4 separate regions of the Homo sapiens genome follow, and regions 2, 3 and 4 are each linked to region 1. Evidence: promoter capture Hi-C in 16 types of primary human blood cells and fetal thymus (Javierre and others, 2016). All regions are on one chromosome and are shown on one strand. Each heading gives the region's core, a stretch centred on a gene start or on the middle of the fragment in contact. The rest is flanking DNA. Distances are from core to core; before and after follow the strand shown. Region 1 holds the start of CAPN7 (calpain 7). Region 2 holds the start of TMEM43 (transmembrane protein 43). Region 3 has its middle 15 kb from the start of LINC00690. Region 4 holds the start of LOC124906218 (a long non-coding RNA gene).

Region 1 (4,455 bases), core at 1-2,500:
CACATTAGATATATTTAAGTAGTGGAGTTGACTCATTCAACATTTTAAAATATTTGTTGAACACCTGCTCTGGAACAAGGCTTGCGCTCAACGCTGGGATCAAAGTGGTAAAGACAGGAAGCATCCCTGCTTCAGCTATAAAACTGTAGTTGCTACCTTTGAGAGCCATCTTTGGGCCAGGCACAAAATCAAATTCTGTGTGTCTTTATAACAGCCTGATGAGACCGTTGTTATTAAGAACTTCACTAAATGTGAAGAAATACACTTAAACTAAGAAATTAGAGTCCCATTTTAAATGCAGGCCAAATGACTGAAAAAAAATTTAGAGTATAATTAAAAAATTAAAAGTACACACTTAAAATGTAGTTTGATAAGTTTTGACAAACGTATATATTTTTACACCACCATTGAGATATAAAACATTCTCATCATCCGAAAAGATTCCTTTGTATCCCCTTCCCAACCACTGATCTGCTTTCTAACATCGTAGTGTTTTCTAGTGTTTCTTATAGATGGAATTATACATTATGTACTCAATTCTTACTTCTTTGACTCAGCATGAATTTGGTGGTGCCCATCACTAATTCATTTTTATTACTGCTGACTTCAGACCTTTAGGGGAGAGAAGACATAAATCAAATAATCACCTAATTAAGTATTTAATTACAACAGCATCAAGTTAACCTAAGGGTAAGTACAAGTGGAAATACATTACCTTGTTTGTTAACAATTCAATCAATACGACCTTGGTGTACAGTGGGGGGCTATAGGGTCATGATTCAGCTTGTGGAAAACAAATGAAAATAAATGTTAGCGAAGAGTGACTCTAAAGAACCTCTGTCCTCACGGTAATTTTTTTAATGTGTCAGATGCTGGTGGGAGGCATTCTTCCTTAGCTCTTTACTCCCATCCCTTACACTTAACAGAGGAAAGGATCTGTAAGGCGCGTACCCCTCTACTGCCCACTGTCGACGAAAACAGCCTCGCCCTGCACCGCCACCGCCACGCATAAGGCGGTGTGTGGGCAGCTCGGACGTGGCACCTGCCCTCAGCTGCTCAATCCCGGGCGCCGCGACGGTCACGTGCACAGCGGCAGGCCTTTTTGCCCCGCCCCCGCGGCCCGGCTCCTGCGTGGGCCCGGCCCCGCCCACAGCCCGCGCAGTCCCGCGAGCCTGGCCTCGGCGGCCCCAGCTTCTAAGGAGCTCGTGAGGGCCAGGCTGCGCCTGCGTCGGGCGGCTGGTGGGCGGGGCGAGGGCCGCTGGGGCCGCGAAGTGGGGCGGCCGGGTGGGCTACAAGCCGGGTCTGGGCTGAGGGGCGCGGCTTCGCGGTGGACCCCAGCCCGGCAACGGGAAGGCGAGCTCTCCTCCACCGTCCAAAGTAAACTTTGCCGCTCCTTCCGCGGCGCTCCCGAGTCCTCGCCGCCGCCGGGCCGCCGCAGTCCGCGAAGAGCCGTCCTGCGTCAGGGCCTCCTTCCCTGCCCCGGCGCGGGGCCACTGCGCCATGGACGCCACAGCACTGGAGCGGGACGCTGTGCAGTTCGCCCGTCTGGCGGTTCAGCGCGACCACGAAGGCCGCTACTCCGAGGCGGTGTTTTATTACAAGGTAGGGCCGGGCCCGGCGCTTCGGTCGGAGTTGCTCAGTCGGAGTGCGGCCCGGGCCTGCGGCCGAGGGGCGGGATCCGGGTGCGGAGGCTAGCGGCCCCGGCTTTGCTTTTCCCTCGTCCGCCTCCCGGCCCTCCTCTTGTTGGGAGCGGCAAGCCCGAGTGCAGAGGCCGACGCTGAGGCTGCGGGGAGGCTGGGTCGCGGCTTGCAGCCGCCGCTCCTCCACCTGTAGTCCTGACTGGCAAATGCCCACCGTTGAGCCGCTTTGGGGGGCAGGTGTTAGATATGGGTAGTTAGTAGCCAATTCTTGCTGTCACTTGACTCTGATTTACAGCTAGCGGGAAATGGCCTGTGATATATATCAAAATAATGCATGCTCGTTAAATAAACTTAAAAAGAATAAAAACCATCTCCTGTCATAGCATTTGACATACAGTCATGCGTCCTTAGCGATGTGATATTTTCTGAGAAATGTGTTCTTAGGCCATTTTGTTGTTGTGCGAACACCGTAGAAAGCGCTTACACAAGCCTGAATGGTACAGCCTGTTCCACACCTAAGCTGTATGGCATGGCCTGTTGCTCCTAGGTTACAGGCCTGCGCAGCGTGTTGCTGTACTCAGTGGTGTGTGCAGTTACATGCAGTGGTAAGTATTTGTGCATCTAAACATAGAAAAGGTACAGTAAACATGCAGCATAAAAGATAAAAAAAAAATACTACACCAGTGTGGGGCACTTACCCACAAAAGGAGCTTGCAGGACTGGAAGTTGCTCTGAGTTGGTGAGTAGTGGTGAGTGAATGTGAAGGCCTGGGACATTCACTGCTCTACTCTTGTAGACTTTATAAGCAGTGTACCCTTAGGCTACGCTAAATTTTTTTAATCTTTCTTCAGTAATAAACTAACCTTAGCTTACGGTAACCCTTTTACTTTATAAACTTCTAAATTTTCTTAACTTTTTAACTCTTTTGTAATAGCTTAAAACGAACTTATTGTGCAGTTACACAAACATTTTCTTTATATCTTTATTTGGTAAGTTTTTTTGTTTCTTTTTTTTTTTTTATTCTTTAGTTAAAAACTAAGGCACACGTTAGCCTAGGCCTACACCTCGTCAGGATCATCAATATTACTGTCTTCCACCTCCAATCTTGTCCCACTGGGAGGTCTTCAGGAGCAATAACAGGAATGAAACTGTCGTCTCCTATGATAACAATGTCTCTTGAAATATCTCCTGAAGGACATGTCAGAGACTGTTTTATAGTTAACTTTTTTTTATAAAAGGAGTATACTAACAGTACATAGTATAGCATAGTAAATACATAAACCAGTAACATAGTTGTTGATTATCAAGTATTATGTACTCTACATTATTGTGTGTGGTAGACTTTTACACCACTGGCACCCCAGTAGGTTTGTTTACATCAGCATCACCACAAACATGCGAGTAAAGTGTTGTGCTATGACATTATGATGGCTATGACATGACCAGGCAATAGGAATTTTTCAACTCCATTATAATCTTAGGGGACCACTATCATATATTCAGTCTGTTGTTGACTGAAATGTTATGTGGTGTGTGACTATATTTTTGTGTTTTTTTATGCGTATGTGTATATGCTTTTTTTTTTTTTTTACAAACTGGTTTATACTGTTTTTAGTAATAGCTGCACAGTAGTTCATTATGTGGGTGTACCATATTTTTTTTTTTAAGAGACAGCGTCTTGCCCTGTCACTCAGCCTGGAGTGCCGTGGCCCACTAATAATAGCTCATTGCAGCCTCAAACTGCAAAGCTCAAGCAATCCTCCTGCCTCAGTCTCCCAATTGGTGGGACTACAGGTAGACACAACCACACTTGGCTAATTTTTTTTTTTTTTTTTTTTTTGTGTAGAAATGGAGTCTCGCTGTGTTGCCCAGGCTGGTTTCGAACTCCTGGGTCAAGCGATCTTCCTGCCTCAGTCTCCCAAAATGCTGGAATTACAGGCGTGAGCCTCTGTGCCTGTCCAGTGTACTATAATTAATTTACAGACTCTTGGGCATTCAGTTGATTTTGTTTTTTCAACATCATAAGTAACGATGTAGTTCATATCTTTATAACTAATTCTTATGACTAGTGCAAATTTTTGCCTGAATTTTCTTTGGGATAAATTACCGGGGACAGAATTGATAAATCAAAGGGTATGAGCTTCCATGGTCCACTCTCTTCTCTCCAATTCTGAGGATTTGCAAATATACCCCTCTAGCTCTAGCTAGATTTGGAGGGAGCTGTGTCCTCATGATAGTGTCACCTTTTCTTTTAGAAAGATTATCAGACTTTGATAATACTGTACAATAGTAGTACTTTTTTTCACAAATGTATGTGCTGTCAATAAAGTGTGGTTTGTTTCAGATTAATATTTTGTTGCTTTCATTTTATAATCTTTTTTCCTTTTTTTTTGAGACGGAGTTTTGTTCTTGTTGCTCAGGCTGGAGTGCAATAGCACAATCTCGACTCGCTGCAACCTCCACCTCGTGGGTTCAAGTGATTCTCCTGCCTCAGCCTCCTGAGTAGCTGGGATTACAGGCATGCACCACCACCCCCGGCTAATTTTGTATTTTTAGTAGAGACCGGGTTTCTCCATGTTGGTCAGGCTGGTCTCAAACTCCCGACCTCAGGTGATCCACCTGCCTCGGCTTCCCAAAGTGCTGGGATTATAGGCATGAGCCACCGCCCCCAGCCTATTTTTTTCTTTTTTTATTGATAGGTAATGTACATAGTTTCAGGGTACATGTGATAATTTAATACATTAATATAATTTGTAAAGATAAATCAGCATACTTGGGATAGCCATCACCTTAACTACTTCACAGCTGAACTGTG
Region 2 (4,032 bases), core at 1,533-4,032, 1.1 Mb before region 1:
CAGTCTGTAATCATGCATTTGTCTGGTGATGTTTTAATGGCAATCTGTTCCACCATGCCAGGAGGGCAGAGAATGTGTCACCTTGCTCACCACTATATGCCCAATGGCTGGCACATCACGTGTGCTCTATAATTGTTGACTGAACAGGAGTTGGCAGGCTCTGCATTAGAAAGAGGAAACTAAGAAAGAAACACTATGGTGCTGACACAGGAGAAGTGTGGCTAGCCCAAGGCCCAGGTGCGAGGCTGAGAGCCCTTGAATGCCAAACCAACGAGTTTAACCTGAAGGCTGGGTAGCAGGTGGACCCCTGAAATAAACTTGTACAGGCAAGTGATTCACTCAGAACAGAGGGCAGGTAAATGCATGATTCAATAAAGATGTGGGCACCCATTGTACACCAAGCCCTGTGCTAGATGCTGGGGATTCCACAGCCCATCTGATGCTCTCAGCTTAGTGCGAGAAGACAGGCAGGAAGTAAGATGGCAAAAAATAAAAAAGGTCATTTCAGACAGTTCAGGATGTGAAAGACACAAAGGGTCAGGAGGTGATATTGGAGCTAAATGTTAAAGGATGAGGAGTCAGCCACGGAAGAGCTGAAGGCAGGATATACCAAACCAAGGGAATAGCCAAGAGGCTAGAGGCTGGGCAGCAAAAGGGTGGGAAGAGACCAGGCTGGAAAGGCAGACAGGGCCAGATCACATAAGCTCTGATACAGTAAGCAGTTTGGGATCATTTTTTAAAAATCCTATGGGAAGCATAAAGGATCAGTGGGGGGCGGAGGGGGGGAAGTTAGGGACTTCTTACGGGGACAGTGGTATGCACAAGATAAATACTAAGGAAGGCCTATAAGTGAGTGCTTTCAATTCTCACTCCTCTCCGAACTAAGAGAGATCTTTGAAGCAGGAAAAGATAGGGCTCCATGTTTTGGAGGCAGATGGACCTAGCCTCCCCTTTCCAGAGAAAACTGCCTCCTGTAAATCCTCAAAGAGGAGGGTCTTGTTTATCAGCACAGCCTCATTATACCCAAAGGCTCAAAAATTATTTGCTAAATGAAGTAAATTAGAGAAAGACTCGAAATTAAAAACAAGAGTGGTGAGGGCAGAGGACTTTTGCTTATGGCACACATTAAGTAGTAATCAGCGGAAATATAATAGTACTCATTAAAGAGTGAGTCTTATGGCTTTACGACCCAGAGGAGGAGAGGTTCTAGAAGCAGACAGCGCCACCAGGGAAAAGGCTCAGAATTTTAGGCTGAGCTAGTCTCCTAACTGGATGTGTAACTACAGGTAGGCCACCTCCTTCTCTGGGCTTCAGATTGCTTGAATTAACTGACGGAGCTGGAGTATTCACCAAAGAATTTCTGGGGGACTTCCAACTCTCTCTGTAGTTTTATAACCATCCATCCCCCTTCTCTGGCGCAGAGAAGGTGCTTCATGAGTATTTGCCGTATCAATGAAGCCCAACATCTCATTTTACAACACTGGATACCAGGGCCTGGAGGGGTTAGGTGGGAGCTCAGGGCCAAGGAGCCAGTTTGTGGCAGTGTGTGGGGAGGCCCTCCGACCTGTGGCTCGGGTACTTCTGAGCTCTTGGGTAGAGTAACATCAAGGAAGCAGTAGGTGGTCGGAGCTCAACTTTGGGGTGGGAGGTAGGCAGGGTTCTCCCTGCAATCCACTGGGCACTAGATTGGATAAGGCTCTTCTGGGGTCACAATGCCCAGGCTCAAACCCCAGCTCCACGATTTGCTGGCTGAGTGGCTTTAGCCATGTCTCCTGTGTCTAACTTTACTCTTCAGTAAAATGTGACCAACAACAGAGCCTGACTTACAAAGGTCGCAGCGAGATCTGTGAGACAAGCCAGGCAAGTTTCCTTGAACAGTGCCTGACAGGTAGCAGGGGGCTCAAAAACATTCCCGTTAGTGGAACTCCTAGCACTCCAGCACAGCACACGCTACCCCGAGTGGCAACTTTTCGGGACGCGCCTTTTAAAGGCGCGTGCAAAATGTAAACACGTGGGGTATGGCAGGAGCGGTAGTGATAATTAACCACCATACATTCCCAGTTTCGAGCCACACGCAACGTGCTCGGCACTTCCCGTGCCCCAACCGGACCTAGTTTACGACTTCCTACGCACAGGCCCCTCTGAGGTCAGGGTTCGGGCTTCACTGTGACCTTGGACCAGCCCCGTTCCCCCCAGAGCTTCGGTTTTCTCATCCGCAAAACAGGAGTAGCGACCCCCCAGCCGGCCCGCCTCCGAGTGTCCCAGGGTGGGCACCTGGGCCGCGCCTCAGGTGGCCCGCGCCCGGCGTGGTCGCGGGGCGCCGGGGCCCGCGTGTCTCCCGCAGGCCCTCGTAGGCCGGTCTCCGTGGCAGCCCGCCCTCCCTACCTTCCTGCCGGCAATAGGACATGGCTGCAGCCCGTCCCTGAGACCTTGCAGAAGCGGCGGTGGCGGCAGCTGCACCTTTACGCCGTGACCTCCCTCTCCTCTGGCAGGGCGGGCTCCTCCGAAGCCCGCGCGGACCCGCCCCCTCCCAGGCCTGCCCGCCGCGCGCCTGCCTCGGCGCCCTCGCAACCGCGGCCAGGCCAACCTCAGCCGGAAACTACATTTCCCAGCAGGTCGCGCGCTCCTCGACAGCTCTCCAGGCAGTAGAAACTACATTTCCCCGAAAGCTTTGCAGTGCGCAGGCGCATCAATGAGGTACTGCAATGTCCCGGACCGTATAGTTTCCAGGACGTCTCGCCGCGCGCATGCGCAGAAACACTGGGCACAGGGGGAGGTAACTGCAGTAAGTCCCGCTTGGCCCTGGAGTCCACGCGGATTTTCGAAGCTGGGGCTGGCAAGAGGCCGCTGGACACCACGCTCCAGTCGTCAGCCCACTTCCTAGCTGAACAGCGCGAGGCGGCGGCAGCGAGCCGGGTCCCACCATGGCCGCGAATGTGAGTATCCCCGGGCCAGCCGGGCCACACCCAGGCTTCCCCGTCGCCCTGGGGCTTTTCCCCGGGGTCCTCTAGGTCCATTTCGCCGCCTGGAGCTCCTCCGTGCGGCTAGGCCCGCATCTCCCTCTGCTCGCCGTGTCTGTGCCTTCGCCAGCTCATCCCTCTGCTCATCTCGCGGCCTGTCCAGGCTTCTTTTGTCCGTGTTCCTTGGCTCGCCTCGTCCTCGGCGTTCGTGCGGAGGCGGACTCGGAGGTGTTGCTCCCGTACTGGGATCTGCTTGTACGCCTCTCCGCGGCCCCTCCTTGCATTCCCAGTTCCCTCCTGTACCTTGGGGCCCTGAAACTTGCGCATTATGAGAGCTGGACGCGACCTCAGAGAGGGCGCCAGTCCCTTGGGAGGGAGGAAGGCGATCCAGCCCAAGTGGAGCTGTCCAGCAATGGACAGACAGGGCTGTCCAGGCGGGCAGAGAGCTCTCCGCCCTAGGGAGTCTCTGTAAACCGAGTCTGTGATGCTCCAAAAAGCTTAGGCTGGGCTGGGAGCGAAGGAGTTGGGGGAGAGGGAGCATTTCTCTACTGTCGGGGCCCCTCCTCCCCCTAGCAAGGATTTGGTTGGAGGAGGCCTGGCTGAGGGCTGTTCCCTCAAGGCCTCTTCTCCCTGCAACTAGCCTTTCTCGGGAAACTATTTAAGCCCAACATTCATTCAACAAGCAGCGCCTCCTACCAGGGCGCTGGGTGTGGGAGAAGCTGGTGACTCACCTCTCCCCTCCTCTGTGAAAGTGCTTCTAGGGCCCGCTTAGGAGCCCAGCCAGCCCCAGACACACCCTCCCTCCTGCTTTGGTAGAGTGTCCTAGCAGCTCTCCCCTTGCCTGTCACACCCTATTTCCAGACACCGCCTCTGTCCCCAAGCGTCCTCTCTGCCTCCCACACCCCTTGAGAGGCCAGGGTGTGCATCACCCACAGCCCTAGTACACTTTGTCTCGGGTTAGTATCATCCACACTCCCAGGACATTTCGGGCCCACAGGAGGGTTAGAAGCCTTGAATGTTGTACCTAGAAAAGCCTCAGAGGTATTCGGAGAGACTCAGGCTCGGCCAGGCG
Region 3 (4,779 bases), core at 819-3,318, 1.3 Mb after region 1:
TCGGGGCCGACATAATGTCAATTATTTCCAAATCAATCTGTGAATTTAATCCATCTTTAATTTTTTAACTTGACAAACTGATTTTTAAATTCTACTCAAAGAATAAATATGTGAAAGTAACTAAAATAATTTTTTTTAAAAGGAGCCAGGTGTGGTGGTTACGGGACTGTATTTCTAGTTACTCTGGAGGCTGAACTGAGACAGAAGGATTGCTTGAGCCCAGAAGTTTAAGACCAGCCTGGGCAACATAGTGAGACCCCATTTAAAAAATTAAAGGGGATAGCTGTTACTAGATAGTAAGATATATTTCAAAATTACTCTAATTTGGGAATTTGATACCAACATAGGAATGAGAAAATTGATTACTGAACCAGAAATCAGAATTTATCATATACTGATTGGTATGTGCAATTGGTAGGAAAAGGAAAGATTAATTAAATAGTCTGGGAACAACCGGCTTGAAACTAATATACTAAAATAAATTCCACAGGGATTAAATACAAAAATAAAACTACAATAGAACTCAAAGAAAATACAAGTAAATATTTTCCCATTTACCAGAACTCATCCATATGGCTCAACTCAACCGCAGGGGAGGCTTGAAAACGTGTGTGGCTCTTTGGGAAGCACTCACTGTTACTGCCATAGATACCTAACCTATTTCTAGGAATGAGGGAAAGGATGAAACAAAGGATTGAAACCGAAGGGCTTTCTGCCTATCCTTATGTTTATCAAAAAATTCCAATACCCAAAATACACCATCCCACAATTATAATTGGTTGCATAGGCAAAGCTTCTCTTTCTCATTTGATAATCCTGTATATCTTTATAAGGAGCACATTTTTAGCTGATATTCCAGCTGCATATTGGAATTACATCTGTTCTCATTCTCTTGTTAATAATGTTAATAACGAAGCTTGACTAATAAATTGCAAGGGCTAACTTTGGAGTGACTGGTTCAAAATTCCTTGCTAGTGAGGAAAACAAAAGAACAAATATATTTTAAGAATAGATCCACCATAATAACATGCTGATGGTCAAAACTGATCAGGTAATTTGGATGAAGCCTCACACCTTCTTACACTTTGCAAAAGAAATAGCAGGAAAGGACAGACAAGCCTGGGCTCCTGTTCAGCCCTGGGGAGGAAGCAGGTACAATGGAGCTGGCAGTGTGGTCATTCCTGCTGTGCCAAGCCAATTTGCTTGAACTTGAAACAGAAGTGTTAACCTCACGGCACGCAAGTCCACCCATCCTCTGCTTTTGCCCTCCTTGGGGGCTTTCAGTGGCGCTTGTTGGGGGGAGAAAAAGGTGCTTGTTTTATTCCCAGTTGTACAGAGCAGCTGATCAGTGTCTGCACGACTTCTTGAACAAAGAATGTATTTCAGACCTTCTTATTGCTTGCTTACTTCATTTAACATTTAACAGATGTCAGTTGTGACACACACACACTTTCTCCCTAGGCAATGGATTAAGGCAAATTTCATTTTATGCCTGGCACGAAAGCCATGCTACATTGTATATTGAAAGACTTTTTTTTTTTTTTAAGAGAGAAAGAGGGGAAAAACAATTCTGCCTTAAAATCCCTAATAATGCAAGAAAACCAATTTCCGCAAAGGCATTGTCCTGGAAAGCTTTGTTGGTTTATGGTGCCACCTAATGGGGATGTGTCAGATTACACAAGGGCTATTGCATCAGGTCGCACACCCTGTCATGGTGAACACACTGGTGGTGTGTGGCTGGGAATGCAGTTTATGCAGATGCCTGTGCTGGATGAGATGTTATCGTCACGTACTGTGTCTATGTCTAGTTATTTAACCTTGGGCAAGTCCCTCCACGCCTCTGAACTCAAGGATCCTCACCTAAAGGAGGCTTCTGGATGCCTTCTTTGTGAGACTGTTCACAGGACAAAGAAAAGGTGTACTTGGCTGGGCGAGGTGGCTCATGTCTGCAATCCCAACACTTTGGGAGGCTGAGGCAGGAGGATCACTTGAGGCCAGAAGTTTGAGACCAGCCTGGGCAAGATGGCAAGACCCCATTTCTACAAAATAAAAATTAAAAAATTAGCTGGGTGTGGTGTGTGAGCCTGTATCATACTCCATATCTGGGTAACAGAGAGACTCTGTCAAGAAAGAAAGAAAGAGAAGAAAGAGGAGAAAGAAAGATGAGAAAGAAAGAAAAAAGAGAAAGAGAAAAAAGAAATAAAGAAAAGGAAGAGAGAGAAGGAAAGAGAGGGAGTGAGGAAGGAAAAGAAGGAAGGGAGCAAGGAAACAAAGGAAGAAAAAGAGGGAAGGAAGAAGGAAGGAAAAAGAGAAAGAAAAGAAAGAGAAAGAAGAAAGAGAAAGAAAGGAAGGAAGAAGAAAGAAAGAAAAAGAAAGAAAGAAAGGGGAAAGAAAAGGTATATTTGAAATGGAGACATAGCCCAAGGCTCTTAAACTCAGGGTTATGTCAGTCATGATGTAATAAAATCATGAGGCCCTACATATATTGTTTTTCTCCTTTTGGTATAAGCTTGGGTTTCAGAGCCATGTTTTTCGACGCCAGTAAAACTTCCAGCACTAGCATGGAAATGAACTGCAGTCGATGGCTGCCCTCAAGGTTGGAGAGGGGATAGGAAACTGGGGCTGCGTTGAACTGGACAACACTTGTCTGGTCTCAGGTGGATGACTGGTGTCAGCCCAGAATGGCCAGGAGGTGTGGCAAGATTTTCCTGTTTGCCTAAAGAAAGTAACCACTTGGGATCTCCTGCTTGTAAATGTTGGCCCAAGTTTTTGAACTCTACAGGGGCTAAAGAAATCATCCCCGAGGACTGAGTTCAGCTTGTGGGTCTCCAGCTTGCGCTCTCTGCTGTTCATTGCTATAGTCTTGCAAGAAGGTGGGTGCTAGGTGTGGAGCCCACTCTATCCAGGGTACTCTATCTGTGGGGAAGGGGGGCTCAATGCTCCATGTCTTGGGGGAGGATAGTGGGAATCTAGTGGCAGAATCAGGAGTGGGGACCTGAATCATTATGTTACTGGCCTGAGGCCAGAAGCTCAGCCTGGTGGAGGCCTAGGTAAGGCCTTCCCTGGTTGTCAATCCTCCTTCCTCGCCACCATGTCTTTCTCTCCTCTTCCTTGGAACGGCTTTCCCTGAAGCCTCCAGGCTTCTCTGATGAGATCCCCTCAAGAGCTAAACAGTTACTGGACACCATTGAGAAGAGTGCCAGACTGAGAGTCAGACCTGTGCATACACACTTGCTGTGTGGCCTTGAGGGGGAACCTCCACCTCTCTGAGTCTTTGTTTCCTCATTTATAAAGTGGGGAGGAAGAGAAAAGCCTTTCCCAGCTTCTCAGGATGGCACCTGGGTACAGATCATAGAGATGATGCATGAGGCGTGCTTTGTGAACTTGAAAGTGCTGAGCAGTACTTGGTTATTGTAAAACAATGACATCTACTTTGAATAATTCTTAAATCCTGGTACAGAATTAAGAAAGGATCATCTATTCATTTAGTCAACTATTTGTTCAAGAAATACGTACTGAGCCTCCATTATGTGCCAGGTACGTCTAAGCAATGACTAAGACAGACATGGATTGCCTGTCATGGAATGTCAATTCTAGAGTAGGAGGTAGAGAATAGGGAAGAAAGGAGGGAAAGAGGGAAGGAGGGAAGGAAGGAAGGAAGAAGGGAAAGAAGGAAGAAGGAAAGGAAGGGAAGGGGGGAAGGACAGAAGGAATGAGGGAGGGAGGAAAGGAAGGAAGGAAAGAAGGAGGGGAGAAGGGGAGGAGGGAGGGAGGGAAGGAAAGAAGGCGGCTTGAAATTGGCCATGATGAGTATTTACACCACCAACATTGAAAAACTCAGTAAATCAGGGTCCTTCCTGCAGGCTGACTTTTAAATATTTGCCATCAACTACTGAAGCCAGAGATTAGAGTGAGGAGCCAGAGGAGGATTCTGAGTGCAGGAGAAACACAATTTGCTATCAATTTTATCCATTTTTCAAAGTTTCCTCTTCATGATGTGGAGAATAGGCTGCAGCCAGGCACAGCAGCAGCGGGAGTATCAGCCTAGAAGGCTGTGAAATAACACAGGCATGAGATGCAAGGTTGGGCTAGCAATGGAGTAGCCAAACACGGATGGTTGGGATATGATGGGGGGCAAGGCTGATGGCATTCATTTGTGGATTGGCTGTGGGGTAAAGATAGAGACACAGCTGGTGAATCATACAGACACACTCTGTTCATGAAGAGCTTACACTTTAGTGGGAGAAACAAAGCAGGCAGTCAGCTAGGACTCCCACAAATATTTAGTTATAGTGGCTCTCGATGACATATAACGCAGGGAAACCTAGCCAAGTTTGGAAATGACATTTAAGCTTTGCTAAGGTGAGGTACGGTACAATCACACACCCATGGAGATATTTACATATTTCCTCCACAACTGATTTGGTTCTGCAAACATGCAAGGCCCCAAACATGTCATTCGCTAGTAATGGACTATGGCAAGGAGGAATCAGGAACGTGGAAGCTTTCAAAAATTGCCTACCCACCCAACTTCTGGGTTTTGCCTGTTCCGTCAGGATCCGCTGTGAGCTGCTAGGGTAATGGGGCAAACGGTGGAGATGCAAATGAAAATAGAAATGCTGAGAGAACAGGTTATCTAGTGGAAAGAGGGTGCCAAAGGAAGCAGGGTAGCTAGTGTGAGTGGACTGTTTGATACAGTTTGGGAAAGAGAAAGTTTTGGAGGAGAGCAGGTACCCTGATAAGGGGAGTCTTGAGGAAGCAGATAGGCGATGAGTTTCT
Region 4 (4,776 bases), core at 810-3,309, 1.0 Mb after region 1:
CTCTTCAGAATGTGGCTTTTCATACATAAATACATTTGCACAGAGTAAATTTTGGATGAATTTGAACCAGGGGGTAGAAGATATATCTTATATTCCAGCAAAGACTGTAGTGTGTGTGTGTGTGTGTGTGTGTGTGTGTGTGTGTGTCTGTTTGTAAGACCTTCTGCTAAAGGATGCTTGCAGACAAAGTCCTTATCAGCCATGACACAGAAATATGGATCAATAAGTGTGTATTGAATGGATGAACAAGAAAAGAGAAAAGCAGCAATTTAGACTGTGTGCCTAACACTGTGCAAGGTGCTTAGCACATGTCTTTTCATTTAATCCTCACAACCACCCTGCAAGGTGATTTTCATCATGTCTAATTTACAGAAGGAGAAACTGTGGCTTGCCCAAGGTCACAAAACTAACAAAGGATTCAAATCCAGGAACGTCAGATCATGATGCCTTTGCCGTCTGCATTGAGCGCCGCAGCCCTAATTGGTTAGCTTGCGCCACCTAGTGGCAGAACTAAAACAGGAACCAGGTCAGCCTGCAACAAATATTAAAGCAGCAGGCTGCACCCTTCAACGGGGCTTGTGAAACCTGGAGAAGCACAGGCACGCCTGTGACCCACACTCACTCCAACCCCACAACTGATAAAAGACAACGCAAGGCCCAGAATCAGATAACCTGGGAAAGTGTGTTGTAAATGAAGCATCATTTCCTCTTGAAATACATTTTTTGTCTTCCTGTACTGGGAACATAAAAGTCCCTCACCATCCCCTTGACCTCTCAGCATTTCCAGGGCTTCCCTCGACCTCAGTCTGCTGTCCCCCTCCCGGACCCAGCACCTTTTTAGCACTGAGGATCTAACCTTGTGCTCATGAGGCCTGGCTTGGTGGCGACACGTCACCCAGCACACACAGGGGCTGTCCCAGGAACGAAGTGGCATGCACATGTGGCACTCCAGGCTTCCAGCTCATCTGTGAACAGCTGCGGTCATTTGGTGGCGAAAACTCTACAGCCCACCTACCAGCCTCCTAGCCGCAGTCCCACCTGCTCCATTTTCACTACAGTCGTTTTTGAAGAGGGGCGGTGTTTCTCCTGCAGTTTACTGACAATGTTTACAGAGAAGCTATCGTTCAAGCTACTGTTCACTGCCTCCCTCCCCCGCTCAAAACACATGAAAAGTTATTCTGCCCTAGAAAATATAGGTGCCTTAGCCAGCAGGCAAATAAACATCCTCGTGGTCTATGCCCTGCTTTTGTGGTCTAATTCATTTTCTCCCTCATTCTCTCTCTCATTCTCTCTCTTATTCTCTCTCTCATGCTCTTTCTCTCTCATTCCTTCTCTCCCTTCCTCGTTCTCTGTATCTGTATCTCTGTCTTTCATAAGCCGAAACACACATACACACCGTGATATAAGAACATATAAAATCACGTGTAAGGATATTGGAATACAATTTAAGGTGAGTGCAAAAAAGGGCAGAGAATGGGCAGTGCAGAAAAGCTGGAGTTGTCGGGGGAGAAGACTGCTGGGCCCCGGATGATGAGCCCTTCTCTGAACAGCATCCAGTTTGGACACAGTAGAGAACACTGACAATCCCAGGTCATTGTGCCTTCAGTTCCTTAGAGGAAAAAAAGACAGCTTGAAGACAAAATCACTGTGAGAGTCACAGAAATGACAATGAGGCATCTGTTTTTACTTGAAATAGGTATGCATTTTTAAATGCCTCGCTTACCTCAGGTGGGTGGTGAATTCTAACGTACTTTCATGCCAGTTACTTCTGCACACCAGTGGGAGGCATCCCTGAGTGCTCTCTGACAGCTGAACGGATCTTCTCAGAGATGCCCTTATTCCAGCACTATTTCTGCAATGTATAGAAAGCACTATCCTTGGAATCAGTTTCCTGCACTTGGGAATGAGGCGATGGAGACTGAGGAGCCCCAGACGGGAGCCAAACAGAACCTTGGCTGGGGTGGGCTCCTCGTCAATGTGTGTGTGGATGGGGCATGGCCAGGCAGGGCAGAACTTCCTGACCAGCTAGGAGTCTGTGGAAAGCAGACTGGTTAATAACATGGACCATTCCAGCTCCTATCATTATGCATGGCACATAGCAAGAACTTAACAAATATTGATTAAATGAAGAGGAGTAGCAGACACTTACTTCACATTTTTCCACATGCCAGGCCTTGTTCTAAGTGCTTTTCTTATGCTAACTCATTTTGTCCTTTCAACACTCCAGTGAGGCCGGTGCTGTTACTCTCCCCATTTCACAGATGGGAAGACCGGACAGAGAGAGGCTAAAATGCCCAGAATCAAACTAGAAAAAGGCAAAGCAAGGATGTACATGAGTATGAAGCAGGTGCTGTGCTAACTGCTTACAATTGTTATTTCATTTGACCCTCATAGCACCCTGTGAAAGAATATCATTGTCCCCATTTTATAGAAGAAACTGATGCTCAGAGAGGTTAAAACAATTCCCACTAATAAGTGGCAGACTTAGGATTTGAACCAAGGACAATCTGACTTCAGACATAGCCATAGGGGATTAGCGCCCCCTATTGCCCACTCTAGTGAGTTCTTAGGCTGTTGGGGAGCAGCCTGGCAGTGTCCAGGGTTGTCCTATATGCCTGCTGGACCCTGGCTGACTGGGCCCTGACAACCAGCATCCTGGAACTGGCCAGAGGTGCAGGGACAGGCTGGGGAGGGGTGCAAAGGCCCTATCTGCTCCCTTCCAGTCGTCTGGGGCGTTCTCACATTGGCAAGGGCAGAGTGCTCCCTTCCTCTGAGTGGATCAGGGATGACATTGATAGGCCCCTGGAAACCAGAACTGCTGGCTTCTTCTGGCCTGTGTCTCAGATGCTGACCTCTGGGGAGTGAGAGTCGGTTGGAAATCCAGCCCTTTCCTCCTCTCTGAGCCCATCTCCTCTGGAGGGGTGCTTTCCTCTTGGCACCTTTGTGCCACATGGGAAATTCAAGTGTCCTTTGGTCCTGCTGGAGAAATAATCCTGCCAACAAAAAGACCCCTTCGTACCAACACAGGAGAGAGAGGGCCCAATTTGTCACTGGGTAAGCATTAACAGACTTGCGTGAAAGTGATGCCAAAGTCTGGACAGAATTTCACACAAATTTATAAAGTAGAAGAAAGAGCAATAAAAACTTCTCTTTTTATCTCCTTGAGTGACAAATGGATGGGTCTTGTGATTGTTTCCTGTGCACCTCCAGAGACTCCTGATTTAATTTCCAAGGTGTGTGTTAGTATTCTAAGGATTAGAACGTCCTAGACTTTGCATTATAAAATCTAAAAGTCAAGAAGGCTCCCTAAAGGGTGCCTCCCACCTTAAAGGAAGTAGCATCATTTTATCCTTACTGTGTCTTCTGAAAAACCACCAATATTATTCCCCAAAAACACCTCTTTTTAACAAAAATTTAATGACATGACCCTTCCCATTTCTCTGTGCATCACTTGGTGGAAATCTACAGTGAGTAGAGTTTACCAAAAACTTCATGTTTATTACCTATATTTTTCCACTACCCTGGGAACCTCCTTTTATTGATGCAGAAACAGGTGCTAAATAGTTCTCCTAAAATTGATGTGGGAGAGCTGAGGCTTGAACCCAGATATTTGACATCCACTGTCTCTTCTCTACTCTCAAAGAATGTATATATAGACATTCTATAGCAAGCAAAGAAAGGTAATAGAAAAAAAGATGAAGTTAGTAGATGCGTTATTTCTTCAGTGCGTGAGCACCATGCCACATTCTAGAATAGAACTGTTCAAGAGAACTTGCTGTGAAGATAGAAATGTTATTTGAGCCATCCAGTAGGGTTACCTCAAGCCACAGCACATGTGCGCATGTGTACCTGAAATGTGGTAGTGTGACTACTAAGGCACTGGCTTCTTAATTTAATTTTATACATTTTAATTTAAATTCAGGGCTGAGCACGGAGGCTCACACCTATAAGTGTGCCGGAGGCCCAGCACTTTGGGAGGCTGAGGCAGGAGGATTGCTTGAGGCCAGAGGTTTGAGACCAGCCTGGGCAACATGGCAAGACCCTGTCTCTATAAAATATAAAAAATTGGCTGGACATGGTAGCACGTGCCTATAGTTCCAGCTACTTGGGAGGCTGACCGCAGGAGCTGGAGGCTGCAGTGAGCTATGACTGCACCACTGCAGTCCGGCCTCGGTGACAGAGAAAGACCTTGTCTCAAAATAAGTAAATAAATAAATACATAAATAAATAAATTTACATTTAGAAAGCCACACATAGCTAGTGGCTACCATGCTGAACAGCACAAAAGCCCTGCTAGGCACATCTTGAGATGTCACTGAGGCCAGTAACTGACTGGCTGTTTGCTTCAGACCTTGGGGTGAAGATCCTGCAAATGTCAGCTGCCCGGCACTCACATGAAGTAGGCTGCCCCTTGGGAAGGGGAACACATGATCGCAGAGGGTTTCTGGCTGCACTGCCCTCCTGCAAGCTGGCGTGGGCTTGGGCCTGCCAGCACCAGAGTCCCATGACTCTAGCTCCCCCAGAGGCCCTGGCGCTGTCTATTCACCACCATCCTAGGACTGCTGCTGCTCGCTCTGCTCCTCCTCTTCCTCCTCCCCATCCCCCAGCCCAGAAGGGCAGCAGTCCTCTCGAGTTTGCCCCTTCAGACAAACCAGGACAGCTTCATCCAAGTATAGAAATAGTCACCTGCTTTCTCAAAGTCACATCAGAACAGAGCTGAGAGGAACCTTAGAAGTCATTCCTTCATTCCTCCTACCGCCACCCCATTTTACAGTT

Evidence for each region. Contacts are between HindIII fragments. The CHiCAGO score rates a contact against its expected background, and 5 or more counts as called.
Region 2: a contact is called between the fragment with the promoter of TMEM43 here and the fragment with the promoter of CAPN7 in region 1, in 2 of 17 cell types (total B cells and fetal thymus). The highest score is 5.9, in total B cells.
Region 3: a fragment that was not itself captured here is called in contact with the fragment with the promoter of CAPN7 in region 1 in 2 of 17 cell types (total B cells and fetal thymus); the score reaches 6.1 in total B cells.
Region 4: a contact is called between a fragment that was not itself captured here and the fragment with the promoter of CAPN7 in region 1, in 11 of 17 cell types (total B cells, neutrophils, naive B cells and 8 more). The highest score is 18.4, in total B cells.

The regions. Positions count from the first base shown.
Region 1 is chr3:15,204,996-15,209,450 of GRCh38, forward strand. It overlaps CAPN7 (calpain 7), which reads left to right and starts at 1,251. Exons shown (of 21, transcript NM_014296.3): 1 at 1,251-1,602. The coding sequence starts at 1,501. It also overlaps the pseudogene COL6A4P1. RefSeq lists a silencer at 957-1,476. The HindIII fragment of the contact is 5,244 bases long and covers 1-4,455 here.
Region 2 is chr3:14,122,270-14,126,301 of GRCh38, forward strand. It overlaps TMEM43 (transmembrane protein 43), which reads left to right and starts at 2,783. Exons shown (of 12, transcript NM_024334.3): 1 at 2,783-2,936. The coding sequence starts at 2,925. CHCHD4 (coiled-coil-helix-coiled-coil-helix domain containing 4) reads right to left here and starts at 2,601. Exons shown (of 3, transcript NM_001098502.2): 1 at 2,386-2,601. The coding sequence starts at 2,407. RefSeq lists enhancers at 1-18, 2,226-2,960, 2,828-3,027, 2,961-3,695, 3,128-3,417 and 2 more and silencers at 2,018-2,067, 2,078-2,637. The HindIII fragment of the contact is 788 bases long and covers 2,668-3,455 here.
Region 3 is chr3:16,549,298-16,554,076 of GRCh38, forward strand. No RefSeq gene overlaps it. Among named protein-coding and RNA genes, the nearest start is that of LINC00690, 15 kb to the left of the region's middle. The HindIII fragment of the contact is 877 bases long and covers 1,631-2,507 here.
Region 4 is chr3:16,246,989-16,251,764 of GRCh38, forward strand. It overlaps LOC124906218 (a long non-coding RNA gene), which reads left to right and starts at 4,198. Exons shown (of 2, transcript XR_007095838.1): 1 at 4,198-4,776. It also overlaps a transcript of GALNT15 not described here. RefSeq lists an enhancer at 354-648. The HindIII fragment of the contact is 5,868 bases long and covers 1-4,776 here.